2 separate regions of the Homo sapiens genome follow, and region 1 is linked to region 2. The links are contacts of gene promoters, found by promoter capture Hi-C in human tissues and cell types (Jung and others, 2019). All regions are on one chromosome and are shown on one strand. Each heading gives the region's core, a stretch centred on a gene start or on the middle of the fragment in contact. The rest is flanking DNA. Distances are from core to core; before and after follow the strand shown. Region 1 overlaps DUS2 (dihydrouridine synthase 2). Region 2 holds the start of SLC7A6OS (solute carrier family 7 member 6 opposite strand).

Region 1 (3,117 bases), core at 459-2,958, 280 kb before region 2:
TGCGACTACAGGCATGCGCCGCCACACCCAGCTAATTTTTGTATTTTTAGTAGAGACGGGGTTTCACCATGTTGGCCAGGATGGTCTTGATCTCTTTACCTCGTGATCCGCCTGCCTTGGCCTCCCAAAGTGCTAGGATTACAGGCATGAGCCACTGTGTCTGGCCATGAACTCTGTTTCTAAGCAACTTATATAAATCTCTCCCTTTCTGCCAATAAAAGCTTCCTTTTCCCCTTCTGTCACCAGATGTACTTGTGGCTTGCCCTTCTGTGCATCCTGGATTATAATCCTTTTCTCTCATTCTCAAATAAACTCAACATGTTTGGAGGTATTTTTCTTTAATGTCTTTTTTTTTTAAGGTTAACAGGATATTATGTCCATGTAACTGAAGTTAAGGTTATTATTTTTTATTTTTTGAGATGGAATCTCACTCTGTTGCCCAGGCTGGAGGGCAGTGGTGCGATCTTGGCTAACTGCAACCTCTGCCTCCCTGGTTTGAGTGATTCTCCTGCTTCAGCCTCCCGAGTAGCTGGGATTGCAGGTGCACACCACCATGCCTGGCTAATTTTTTTATTTTTAGTAGAGACAGGGTTTCATCATGTTGGCCAGGCTGGTCTGGAACTCCTGATCTCAGGTGATCCTCCTGCCTTGGCCTCCCAAAGTGCTGGGATTATAGGCATGAGCCACCTCGCCCAGCCAAGGTTACTGTCTAAGAAATTGAGCGTAATAGAGGAGACCAGCCCTTAAAAGGAATGGTAGAAGAGATTGGAAATGAGTGACTAAAGTGGTGATGTGGGTGTGATCTCAGGGTGGGGTGAGTGGTTGTGGCAGTAACTGGGAAAGGCATGGGGGCTGCCTAGTTTTTCTCAGAGGAGCCTCCTTAGAGGCAGGGTGTGTCAGGCACCTCTGACTGAGTGCCAGAGGAAGTTGCCAGACCAACCACCCTACAAGAGGCTGTCCTCTTGGCTACCACAGTGGTAAGTATTCAGTCACACCTTACTAAGCAGCCTCTAAAGGTCATGTACCTGGCTCAGTGCTAGAAATCTGGCAGTGAACTAAGCAGCCACACTCCTGTTCTTGTAGAGCTTGTTGTCCTGGTGGTCTCCAGGAGGAGCTGAGGATTGAACAAGAAACTACAGCAGTCAGTGTGGACACATGGAGTGTAACTGAGCTGCAGAGAAATGTAGGGTGTTTGGAAAGCATGGGACCAGGGACCTGAATTTGATTTTCTGTAGGGACGTATCTTCACAAAGGGGGCATTCAAGGACAAGGGGACCTTAGCATGGGCATGCATGACTGAGTTGGAGGAGTATTCCAGACAGAACTGCAAGTGGGCAGGCCCCAGGGAAGCAGACAGTTTGGTGTGGGAGACTTTAAAGGAAGGCCAGGGTGGCCGGGCACAGTGGCTCACACCTGTAATCCCAGCTCTTTGGAAGGCCAAAGTGGGTGGATCACCTGAGGTCAGGAGTTAGCTGGGTGTGGTGGTGGGTGCCTGTAATCCCAGCTACTCGGGAGGCTGAGGCAGGAGGCTGAACCTGGGAGGTGGAGGTTGCAGTGAGCTAAGATTGCGCCACTGCACTCCAGCCTGGGCAACAGAGTGAGACTCCATCTCAAAAAAAAAAAAAAAAAAAAAAAGGGAATGCCAGGGTGGCCAGGGCCGAGAGGGAGGGTGAGAGAGACACAGGTGAGGGTGAGGCTGGAGAGGTGGGTAGGGACTGATCATGCAGGGCCTTGTGGGCCATTAGAAAGGTTTAGGATTTTTCCTAAAGTCAGTGGGAAGCCATTGAAAGGTATAAACGGGGGAGTGGTATTATCAGAGTTGCCTTTTTAGGATCCCATGCTGGCAGAATGGATAGGAAGGGGCAAGTGTAGATTTTGGGAGACACATTTGGGGGCTGTGCTAAAGTCCTGGCAACAGATGAGCGGAGGGTTTCTGGTGCGCAGTTGTGGCCATTGGCATGTAGTAAAGCATGTGGGTTAGTTATATTTTGAAGGTTATTTCAATAGAAGTCAGTGATGGATTGAATGTGGGGAATGTGGGTTAAGAATGAGTAATTGGGAGACTGGAGATGCTATTAATGAAATGGGAAAGATTTTCTTTCTACATATTGGACTGGTTAACATGTTCTCTTCCTTTAGACCTTGGATCAGAGATTATTTCTTTTTAAAATTATTTTTATTTAAAAATTAAAAAAAAATTTTTTTTGAGACAGGGTCTTGCTCTGTCACCCAGGTTGGAGTGCAGTGGCATGATCATGGCTCACTGCAGCCTCAACCTCCCAGGCCCAAGTGATCCTCCAACTTCATCCTCCCAAGTAGCTGAGACTACAGGTGCTAATTTTTTTTTTTTTTTTTTTTTTTATATAGAGTCTTGCTGTGTCACCCAGGCTGGAGTGCAGTGGCACAATGTCAGCTCACTTCATCTCCTGGGTTCAAGTGATTCTCTTGCCTCAGCCTCCTGAGTAGCTGGGATTACAGGCGCATGCCACCACGTCTGGCTAATTTTTGTATTTTTAGTAGAGATGGGGTTTCACCATATTGGCCAGGCTAGTCTTGAACTCCTGACCTCGAGTGATCCACCCACCTCGTCCTCCCAAAGCACTAGGATTACAGACATGAACCACCGTGCCCAGCCCAATTTTTGCATTTTTTGTAGAGATGGGGTTTCACCATGTTGCCCAGGCTGATCTTGAACTCCTGAGTTCAAGCAATCTGTCCACCTTGGCCTCCCAAAGTGTTGGGATTATAGGCGTGAGGCACCTTGCCTGGCCTAGTTTTATTTTTATTTTCAAACAGGGTCTCACTGTCACCCAGGCTGGAGTGCAGTGGTATGATATCAGCTCAGCTCGGCAACCTCTGCCTCCCAGGCTCTAGTGATCTCACCTCAGCCTCCCTAGGAGCTGGTACTACAGGCATGCACTACCACTCCTGGCTAATTTTTATGTTTCTGTAGAGATGAGGTCTTGCCATGTTACCCAGGCTAATCTCCAACTCCAAGCTGATCTCCCATCTCCAACTCAAGCGATCTCCCCACCATGGCCTCCTTAGTGCTAAGATAACTGGCGTGAGCCATTGCCTGTCTTTTTATTATTTTTATTTTTTGTAAAGATGGGATTT
Region 2 (3,092 bases), core at 163-2,662:
GGAGAATTTTCCATTTCTGTAGTTTTGCTGCATGTAGTAGACTTTTTTTGGAAGTGATTGCAAATGAAGTTAGCAAATGTAATATAAAGAAAAGCACTGGATTAAATGTGAGAAAACTTGCATTCTAGACCTAAATCTACCTCAAACTTGATATGCTATCCAGGACTATTCCTTTAACCTCTCTTTGATCAATTTTCCTACCTGCTCTATCTCTATTTTGCTCCAGTGATCCCCATCTCAGTCAGGGTGAAAGGCAATGTCCTTGCAAGTACCTAGCAGGCATCCTCCCCTCAAATTCCTTACTGCTCTCCTCTAGCTCACCGGGCTCCAGGCACCTTGCAAGGAGCAAAGAAACGGCTTAAGGGCCTCTTTACTTTCAGGTTCTCTGCCTAGAAGTCCTCTCGATATGTGGAATACCCTGCCATTCACCTTCTGCAAGTCTTCACTCAAATGTCATTTCCTCAGTGACACTCTCACTGAAGTGGCACCACTCTTCCTGCTTTGTCTCCCCGCCTCCTTACATCCCTTATCATCATCTGACACTGAATAGACTTGTTTACTGTTTCTGTCTACCTGCATGTTAGGTCCTCACTGCTGTATCCACAGAATCTAAAAAAATACCTGGCATATCGTAGGCACGTAGTAAACACATGTTGGATGAACAACCAAATCTGTAAAATGAGGCCGTCACGCCGGATGGATCATCCATCCCCTTAAGATGAAACTGTGCTGCGACTGGGCCCAGTCTTCTTGCATTACCATCCTGAGAAGCCCAGCGACCACCTTCAGGGGCATACTCACTTTGCAGGAGCCTGCAGAGGCGGCTTCAGGTTCTCCCTCCTCGTGGACAAGGTCTAACAACTGAAAGCCCGAGTTCCCGGCGGCTTCTGGGTTCCCCGGCGTGTACTCGGACTCCTGGCCGCTCGAGGTGGTCCCCAAGGATCGGCGGCTGGAAAGCACCCGGTAGCGGCCCTCCTGCCGGACCTCCCGAGCCGAGGCGCGGAGATTACGGCGGACACGCTGCTGGCTGTCCCGTGACGGGCGCAGAACTTCCCGCAGGAGAGGCTGGACTGGTTCCTCCTAGGGGGCAACAGGGGACGGAGGCCAGCGTAAGCAGGAGTTCGCGAGCGGGTCAGGGATCGGGTTTCGTACCGGCTGCACCCGAAGATGCCCTCCACACCAGCTGCACCACGCCCAATACCTGGGAGCACACAGTGGCCACCAAGTGGAAGACATTATTCTCCGCCGCTCTCTCCAAACCCTCCGACGTCTTCTGTGCCGCTGACTCGACCGCGTCGCTCCGGAGGCGTTTACAAGCGAGCACAAGAGCCTCCGCCGGCTCCGCACTGCGCTTCCGCTTCACCCGGAGTACAGCGGTCCTGGCGGCCTCCATAGTGGCTGCCGCTGAGCACTGTGGGAGCTCGCGGGGTGTGATGGGATAGCTTTCCAGTTCTGCTTTAGGACCCGCCCCCCAGCACGCTCCTCGACGCTGCGAGGTCCCGCCCCGCGTGCTGGCCGCGGTAAAAGTGGTAGCAGCGGAGGCGAGCGGAGGGTTTCCCGCGGCGGGTGAGGCGCTGGGTATGCTGGGAAGGTGGGGTCGCTTTGGGGTTCTGTGTGCAGCGAGCATGGTGTCCTTGGCACCAGGGTTTCGGCAGAGGAGCCTAGCGTGGGCCTACTTGGACTCCTCCGCGTGGGGCAGCTCGGGACACCCGGGCCTGCAGGAGAGCGGGGTTCTAGGCTGGCCCCGGCTCTGCAGTGCAGCCGGGTGCCTGCCACTCGCGGGGCTCTGTCGCAGTACTCGTGCCTGGCGCCTCCCCTCAGCCACAGAGACCGCAGTAGCTCCAACCATCGCACCCCTAACTGGGCCACGAGTTCTCTGATTGCCAGACCTGTTGTCTTTGCCACTCACTGTTCTGAGTAATTGGAGAGTCGTGTATTCACTACACGCCAACCAGAGTGGTCCTGTAAAAGCGTAAGCCTAGTGTAGATACGCTTCTGCTTAAAACTCTTGAGTGGCTCCCAGTGCTTTTAGAACAAAATCCAAACGCCTTTCCGAAGTCGACAAGGCCCAGCTTGATTGAGCAGAAGATGTGATAGGAGATGAGGAGCGGGGGGCTTCTGCAAAAGTGCTTCGGTCGCTCAGGCTTTTGGCACATTTTGCTTATGCAACCTAGTTCTTTCTACCTTAGGGCCTTTTCTTGGGAAAGTTGGGGTAAGGATTCCTGACCTGTAAAAACTCTTCCCCAACTTTTATCCCGGTCTGTCTTGTAGATCTCAAATGCTAGTTTCCTCAGAGTCCTTCTGTAACCTTGGTTTTCTCTTTCTACAACGCTCTGTGTATTTCTTGCATTCATGTAGTCTGTAATTTGTATTACTCTCTCATTAGAGTCTAAGCTCTTGGAGGGCAAGGGTCTTCTCTAGCTTGTGGTGGTGGCTCCAGTCCCTAATATAGTGCCTGGCACATAGAAGGTATTTAATAAATTTTGTTATTTTATTTTTTCGAGACAGAGTCTCACTCTGCTGCCTAGGCTGAGTGCAGTGGTGTGATCGAGGCGCACTGCAGCCTTGACCTCCTGGGCTCAAGCGATCCTCACCTCGGCCTACCGAGTAGCTGGGACTACAGGCACGCGCCACTACACTCGGGTAATTTTTAATTTTAATATATGTATATTTATATATATATATATATATATATATTTTTTTTTTTAAGACAGGGTCTCACTCTGTCACCCAGGCTGGAGTTCAGTGGCGCCATCTCTGCTCACTGCAACCTCTGCCTCCCGGGCTCAAGTGATTCCCCTACCTCAGCCTCCCGAGTAGCTGGGAGTAACTGGGACTACAGGCACAGGCCACCGCGCCCGGCTAATTTTTTTAAAAATTTTTTGTAGAGAACGGGGTCTCACTATGTTGCGCAGGCTGGTCTGGAACTCCCAGACTCGATATCCTTGCGTCTCGGCCCCTCACAGTGCTGGGATCACAGGTGTGAGCCACCACCGCCTAGCAAATACATTTTGAATGAATGTAGTGGACCATCTGCTCTGCAGTCTGACGGCTAATACAATTAGGGCTTGGCATGGTGGTTTCTATTTCCT

What was found. The method cuts DNA at HindIII sites, captures the fragments that hold promoters and counts their contacts. A contact is called where the count stands out against the background at its distance.
Region 1: a contact is called between a fragment that was not itself captured here and the fragment with the promoter of SLC7A6OS in region 2, in 1 of the 25 tissues and cell types used here (dorsolateral prefrontal cortex).

Annotation. Positions count from the first base shown.
Region 1 is chr16:68,031,297-68,034,413 of GRCh38, forward strand. All of the region lies in intron 2 of DUS2 (dihydrouridine synthase 2), which reads left to right. Among named protein-coding and RNA genes, the nearest start is that of DUS2, 9.6 kb to the left of the region's middle. The HindIII fragment of the contact is 8,004 bases long and covers 1-3,117 here.
Region 2 is chr16:68,309,534-68,312,625 of GRCh38, forward strand. It overlaps SLC7A6OS (solute carrier family 7 member 6 opposite strand), which reads right to left and starts at 1,413. Exons shown (of 5, transcript NM_032178.3): 1 at 1,202-1,413; 2 at 802-1,080. The coding sequence starts at 1,393. It overlaps PRMT7 (protein arginine methyltransferase 7), which reads left to right and starts at 1,486. Exons shown (of 19, transcript NM_019023.5): 1 at 1,486-1,566; 2 at 2,509-2,643. RefSeq lists an enhancer at 418-1,382. The HindIII fragment of the contact is 13,375 bases long and covers 1-3,092 here.